2 separate regions of the Homo sapiens genome follow, and region 2 is linked to region 1. Evidence: promoter capture Hi-C in 16 types of primary human blood cells and fetal thymus (Javierre and others, 2016). All regions are on one chromosome and are shown on one strand. Each heading gives the region's core, a stretch centred on a gene start or on the middle of the fragment in contact. The rest is flanking DNA. Distances are from core to core; before and after follow the strand shown. Region 1 holds the start of TRIM4 (tripartite motif containing 4). Region 2 holds the start of CYP3A4 (cytochrome P450 family 3 subfamily A member 4).

Region 1 (3,408 bases), core at 318-2,817:
AAGGTAAAGTGATTTATTCAACCGGAGCTTCTTAACCCATGAGATAGGACAGATAATCCCCAAATTCAAATGTTACAGGATTTTCCCAACTGATGAAGGAAGCTAGTAACAAAACCCAGCCTCATCATTACAAGCTAGGCTTTTCCCAAATCATCAGCTGTCTATGACATTTACAGATACAGACAGGCACTGTCCAATACAGTATCCATTTAGCCATACAAGCACCTGAAACGTGGATATTCCAAACTGCTATGTGTTGTAAATGTAAAATACACACCAATTTCAGACCTATTATGAAAAAGGAGTATAAAATATCTCATTGAGGCCGGGCGTGGTGACTCACACCTTAATCCCAGCACTATGGGAGGCCAAGCGGGGCAGATCACTTGAGGTCAGCAGTTCGAGACCAGCCTGGCCAAGATGGTGAAACCCCTCTATACTAAAAAACAAAAATTAACCGGGTGTGGTGGCGTGTGCCTGTAATCCCAGCTACTCGGGAGGCTGAGGCAGGAGAACTGCTTGAACCCCGGAGGAGGAGGTTGCAGTGAGCCAAGATCACGCCACTGTGCTCCAGCCTGGGCAATAAAGTGAGACTCCATCTCAGAAAAAAAAAAAAAATCTCATTGATAATTTTCATCTCAGCTTTGAATATTTGGGGTAATCAGATTAAATAAAATATATTATTACAATTAACGTCACCTCGTTTCCTTATCTTACCAGAAAGATTTTAAATTACATATGTGGTTTCTATTGGACAGCAGCGGCACACACCCTCTCAGTATGTTTTTCTTTATTATGAGCTCCCCAAGGGCCAGTTTATTGAAAATTCTGCACAATGATTGCTGAGGTTTGCACCTCCCCTCCTCTCATTCCAGTTTTAACCCTAGCTCTGAAATTCGTGTTTTGCTTAACTTCTTTGAGTTTCAGGGGCTTTTCATGCTTCCAGTAGGAATGACAGCCACTTCGTGGCTCTTTTAGGAGCATTAAGTAAACTTTATCGGGCAACACTGACAGCCCCGTCATAGTCACCGCGACGGCCAGCTCACCCGGTAGCTCTCGAAGGCCTCGTCGATGGGTGCCATGGCGTGAGTCTGGTGCTCCTGGGACTCCCTGCACACCAGGCACACTGGCCGCTGGTCGTCCTCGCAGAAGAGCCGCAGCGGCTCCCAGTGGCGGCCGCACAGGCCCGGGGGCACGGGGCCCAGGCGCCGGCGCTGCGTCTTCTCAGTCAGCCTGGCCAGGGCCCAGTTGGGTCGCAGCGCGGCGGGCGCCGATGGGTGCCGACATTCGGGGCAGGGGAACGGGCCGCCGCCCGGCGCCCAGTTGCGGTGCAGGCAGCCGCGGCAGAAGTTGTGGCCGCACTCGATGGACACCGGGTCCTGGAAATAGTCCAGGCAGATGGGGCAGGTCAACTCCTCCTGGATGTCCTCAGCTTCCATGCTGCTTCCCTGCCGCGGAGACGGAGTCCGACGTGAGGCGCGGGAGAGGCCAGCAAGCTGCGAGCGGCCGCGGGGAGGCCAGACGACTTCCGAACCGCCGTCACCGCCTCACGTAAAAGGGTACAACGCAGTTTCTCTTCCGGGGTTCAGGACCCAAAAAGAACGCACGGACGTTGCCCGGCCTGAGCGCGCAAGACCGGAAGCTGCTGGGTATCCGCGCCGGAACCGCGAGGGGGTTGGTTCAGGCCTAGGCGCGGGGCAGGACGGGACCGGTGAGTGGCTCCTCCAAACAGCTATAGAGACCCAGAAATGCCTGTGGAAAGCTACAGAGGACTTGGGCAAGGCGTTAGAGCCGGACGTTGTGGTCCCTGGGGGAGCCAACCGGGGAGGTGCCTATGATCTTTCTTTCCAAGTTTGAGGGTTCAGGTCTGTGTTCGCCTGCTGGTTAGACCGATTTAAGTTTTAGAGTCCCAGGAGTTCTGGGCGAGCTGCAGCCTAGGGGCCTGGAAGGCCAGGAAGACTTGAAGGATCTGTGTTGGTAGGCCTGGAGTTTGGCTAACGTGGGGATGATTTGGATTCTGAGATGCAGATACATTGCCTTTTTGGTATCCAATTTGAAAAGTAGCAACCATTTTGCTATCCCAAAGAACATCCATGGAGGCTTTCAACAAATAATATGCTCACCTGTTTCAGGGAATTATCTATATCCCTTAAGTGGATTTTCGATCTTGTGTTTCTGAGGTGCTTTGCTTTTTATTCTTCCCACTTTCTTCCTTTTCTTGTGAATATTTGTTTAAAACAAAAAAAACTCTGGACTGACAAATTTAATAGAAGCTATTTGCACAAAGAACAGTTCATGAATTGGGCAGCACTCAGAACCAAAAGAGGTTCAGAGAGCTCTGTCCAGCAGTATGACCTGCTAGCTTTTATAGGAAGCAAAGTAGAGAAATCACCTCATTAGCTAACATCTAGGTGTCTGCCTTATTTGACAATGATATGATGAGGCATTTGCCTTATTGGGGCATGGTCTGATCAGTTGGCTGTCTGTTATTTGCTGAAGCTCGGCCGTGATTGGCTGAAACCCAGCTGTTATAAAAAATAAAGTAAGTTAGGCTTCAGTTCGTTTACATACTAAGTCAGGTTGTATTTTGTTATATGGGAACTCAAGTACCAAGACAGCCTCAGGCTAATGGGCTTTTGCTTATTTAACAGATTTTTCATTCTTTTTATGTCCCAATATCAAATACTGCCTTTCCTATAATAATTTTTCTCAGTAAGTAGTATGATTAAATGATTAGAAAAAGGGGTTCTTGAGGTATCTGTTTGGGGGTTATTGATGAAAGTTCCACTGAATATTTCTAAAACATTTAAATTGGACAACTAATGAATGGATTTTCTTTGCAAATTGGAATACTCTATGGAGAAGGGATCTGGTTCTTTAATAGGGACCAAGCAGGAAGGAATGCTCTTAACAGTTACTGATGTTTACCATGAGTGTTTATGGCATCTGTGTGTCTATATGTTTACCTAAGTATTGAATGAGAAGTTTCAGCATTCCTGCAAAGTATTTATTCCCCTTACAGTAGTCATTTAAATCTTTTCAGGTAAATCCCTTAAAATCCTTATGTCTTTATTCCTGCCATACCAGAGATGACCTTCCTTCTTTACTAAGTGAGGCTCCCTAATTAACAATTTTTCTCCATCACAAAATGTCTATAAGTCTGTATACCAGCCAAGGTTCATTCAGAGAAGTGGAATCACTATGTTTCTTTATGTTCGCAGGGCAAGCAGTTAAGAAGGGAAGATGAACATAAAGTAGGGAAGAGCAAAAATGAGTTGGAACCTAAGACACGAGCTGGTCATTCTTTCACTGTCTCCAACTTTAAAGATATGAGTATCCTTGCTAGAGGAGCTGACACTTTTTGCCACAGGACTAGACACACACACAGCTCAGGAATCAAAAAAGGTG
Region 2 (3,408 bases), core at 454-2,953, 140 kb before region 1:
GGTATTGTCTGCCCAGCTGCCTGAGTCTGTAGTGACCACCCCACAACATGGCAGACCACACACAGAGTGACACAGATGGTGCCTCTGTGTCCAGGCTTCAAGCAGATGAGATGCAAACATGTTTGTCCTTTGAGTGACCTCCACTACGGGGCCAGGACCCATGAATATCTCTTTGGAGTTCTACCCTGAGGGATGAGGAATATTTTCTTACTCCATTTTGATCCTACCTGGATGCTTTTGCTGTCATCACTGGCTCACAGTCTTGCTTACTCCTCTGCCCTGAGCGTTTAACATAACCTGCTAAGCAGGTTTGTTTGAAATAGGGGTATTAAAATGAACGTTGGGAAGGTATATTTTAAAAGATATATGCAATCTTGTCATAGAGTTATACATTTGTGCATTAGATTCATATTCCTGACATGATTCTGGAAAGGTGAGGTTATTTTACACACATTTATTGTAACAAATACTGAACTAACAGCCCTCATTTGTCACCTAGAAGGAACATGTTGGAAATAGACTATCTCCAAAAAAATCTGGTTTAAAATAGAATGAATTTAAGCCATATCAATTAGTGTTAAAAGGTCAGAAGATGGAAAATATGTTGCCACAACTCACTGAATTTCTAACCTTTCTGTGAAAGAATTAAAATGAGGTTTATATTTTCTATTTTCCTGTCATTATGATTCCCAAATCTTAGTAAGAGTGAAATTGAGGTAGAAGTGAAATGTGACATGTGAGAAGCCTCCACTACCCACAGTGGGGAGTGACTCTTCTCTCTACCTGCTCTAGGATGGCAGGATCCCACCAGTGAGAGGATTCATCCTCTTCTACTGCAACATAAAGGGGAAAATGTAAAATCCAAATTCTAGTTTAGTAAGGAGAAGCCAGGTTTCCACAGCCAAGTTTGGAATGAGATCCGTCACTACTTTCCTTCCTTATCCTCCTTGGGTCCAAACTATTGTCAAGTAGATCATCCTCAATCAATGCTATCCCAAAACCCTTCTTGCCACTAAAGATGGATGGGGAAGATGCTTATTTATTCCTTTATAGAGCTGCATAAGATCTACAATAACCTCTATATGTTTGTAGCATCCAACACTTAAGCTACTGCTCCTTGAACATCTTTTTTTTTTTTTTTTTTTTTTGAGACAGCCTCACTCTGTCACCCAGGCTGAAGTGCACTGGCATGATCTCAGCTCACTGCAACCTCCGCCTGCCGGGTTCAAGCAATTCTCCTGCCTCAGCCTCCCAAGTAGCTGGGAATACAGGCGTGCACCACCATGCCCAGCTAATTTTTGTATTTTTAGTAGAGACAGAGTTTCACCATGTTAGCCAGGCTGGTCTTGAACTCCTGACCTCAGGCAGTCCACTTGCCTTAGCCTCCCAAAGTGCTGGGATTACAGGTGTAAGCCACCACGCCCGGCCTGAACATCTTTTTTGATCTTCAAAACAGATAAGGGAAAGAGAGGCCTGATTAGCACCCCAAGTCCAAGGAAACAGAGAAGAGGAGCCTGGACAGTTACTCACAGATAGAGGAGCACCAGGCTGACAGCCAGGAGAAGCCAGGTTTCCATGGCCAAGTCTGGGATGAGAGCCATCACTACTTTCCTTACTTATCTCTCTCCTCTGAGTCTTCCTTTCAGCTCTGTGTTGCTCTTTGCTGGGCTATGTGCATGGAGCTTTCCTGCCCTGCACAGCAGTGATTCAGTGAGGCTGTTGGATTGTTTATATGCTAGAGAAGGAGGCAGGGCTGGAGCTGCAGCCAGTAGCAGGGCCACCTGTGCTCTGCCTGCAGTTGGAAGAGGCTTCTCCACCTTGGAAGTTGGCAAAGAATCACACACACACCACTCACTGACCTCCTTTGAGTTCATATTCTATGAGGTATCATAAACAACTCAATCAATGTTACTGGGGAGTCCAAGGGTTCTGGGTTCTTATCAGAAACTCAAGTGGAGCCATTGGCATAAAATCTATTAAATCGCCTCTCTCCTGCCCTTGTCTCTATGGCTGTCCTCATTCCAAAATACTTGAAATTCATCCCAACAAGCCACACCTACAGATCTTTACCTATGCCTGGAGTGTGCCTGTGCCCCCTAGAAGACTCCTACACATCCTTCCAAACCCAGACAGACAGAGCCTTCTCTTAGAGTCTTTCCTCACCAAACTCCTCACACAGATGTAACCATTTCCTCCCCTGGGCACTTTCCATCCCCTTCATGCAATCCTATTGTCCTCTTTCCTCTTTACCACCATTGTGTTTCCACGCCTGTTTCCCTGAACAGAGGTGAGCTCCTCAAGGGCATAGTCTAGTCTTATTCCCTGTCATGGCTCTGGTCCCTACCAGGGTGCTGTACACACAGTGGGCAACTAGAAAGGCTGGTGGAGTTGACTTAGCTGAGATTGCTGGGCCTCTGCATGTCATCCCTTCTGACTTTCTGGTGACTTCTTAGGTCATTAATACAGCCAGAGCTCTTGGCTGTGCCTCAGCTGCTGTCTCTGCACTTTCAGGCTGGTCCTCTGTGATTCTGTTGGCAAGGGGACCCCTAAAGGAGAGACAGGGCATGGATGAGATGGAGCTGATGGCTTGGTGGAATAGTATCAATTTGTGCTGCTTCCTGTGAACCCTTCAAAGGTCCTGCCATAGATAGCAAGTTAGACAGGTTCTTTGCCAAAGAGTGGCCCCTTCTCTCTGGAAATACTGCATGTCTGGAAACAGGAGAGAAAGGAGAGAAGAGAACAGCTGCCCAGATAGCCAGATGGACCCCAACCACCTCAGCCAGCAATGATGGGGCAGTGGTCACTGCAGGTCACACAGCATCAAGGACTCCAATAAGATGGTCCCAGCCTCTTGGGGGTGGAATTGGAGTTCAAAGCAAATGGCTTCCTTTTTGACAAGTGGAGGATTTTCTAATGGGAGGAGGGCAGGCCCCAGGAGCTGGTAGAGATGAGGCCTGTAATAGCAGTTGCTGCCACCTGTGAGCTCCCTGACCCATTCCTGATGGGAGAGATCTCAGTGATGAGGGTGTGAAAATTATATCAGCTCATTATCGTCACTCACACCCAAGTTCTGTGTCTGCCTGGCCTGATGAATGGATTGCATGACAAACAAAATCACAGCGTTCTTAAAACTCAATAGAAATAGGCGATGTTTAAGCTGTGCTTGTTCGCTTCCTTCTCTCTTTATTCTTTCTCACATTCAGCCCTCCTGCAGAAACTGATACTCACCCCAGAAAGACACCTTTTCCCATCCCTCTGGCCCCTAAGCCTCCAGGGCTGCTCGGCACCTGGCCTGAGTGGGTGAACATCATGCCAGATTCCTTGTCAGATTCAAGGCCAAGTGGGTGAATGTCATGTGCAGTGTTGTGCCAGGTGTGTGCCGGGAGCCACATGTTCCTTGGGGACAGC

What was found. Contacts are between HindIII fragments. The CHiCAGO score rates a contact against its expected background, and 5 or more counts as called.
Region 2: a contact is called between the fragment with the promoter of CYP3A4 here and the fragment with the promoter of TRIM4 in region 1, in 2 of 17 cell types (erythroblasts and neutrophils). The highest score is 7.3, in erythroblasts.

The regions. Positions count from the first base shown.
Region 1 is chr7:99,917,963-99,921,370 of GRCh38, forward strand. TRIM4 (tripartite motif containing 4) reads right to left here and starts at 1,568. Exons shown (of 6, transcript NM_033091.3): 1 at 1,047-1,568. The coding sequence starts at 1,439. It overlaps LOC101927610 (a long non-coding RNA gene), which reads left to right and starts at 1,641. Exons shown (of 2, transcript XR_001745296.3): 1 at 1,641-1,865; 2 at 3,222-3,408. RefSeq lists a silencer at 1,140-1,299 and enhancers at 1,430-1,479, 1,510-1,589, 1,830-1,939. The HindIII fragment of the contact is 3,942 bases long and covers 1-3,408 here.
Region 2 is chr7:99,782,481-99,785,888 of GRCh38, forward strand. It overlaps CYP3A4 (cytochrome P450 family 3 subfamily A member 4), which reads right to left and starts at 1,704. Exons shown (of 13, transcript NM_017460.6): 1 at 1,531-1,704. The coding sequence starts at 1,601. RefSeq lists promoters at 1,652-2,956, 1,652-2,066, 1,654-3,408, 1,699-3,408, a silencer at 1,775-1,832 and an enhancer at 1,853-1,876. The HindIII fragment of the contact is 7,327 bases long and covers 1-3,408 here.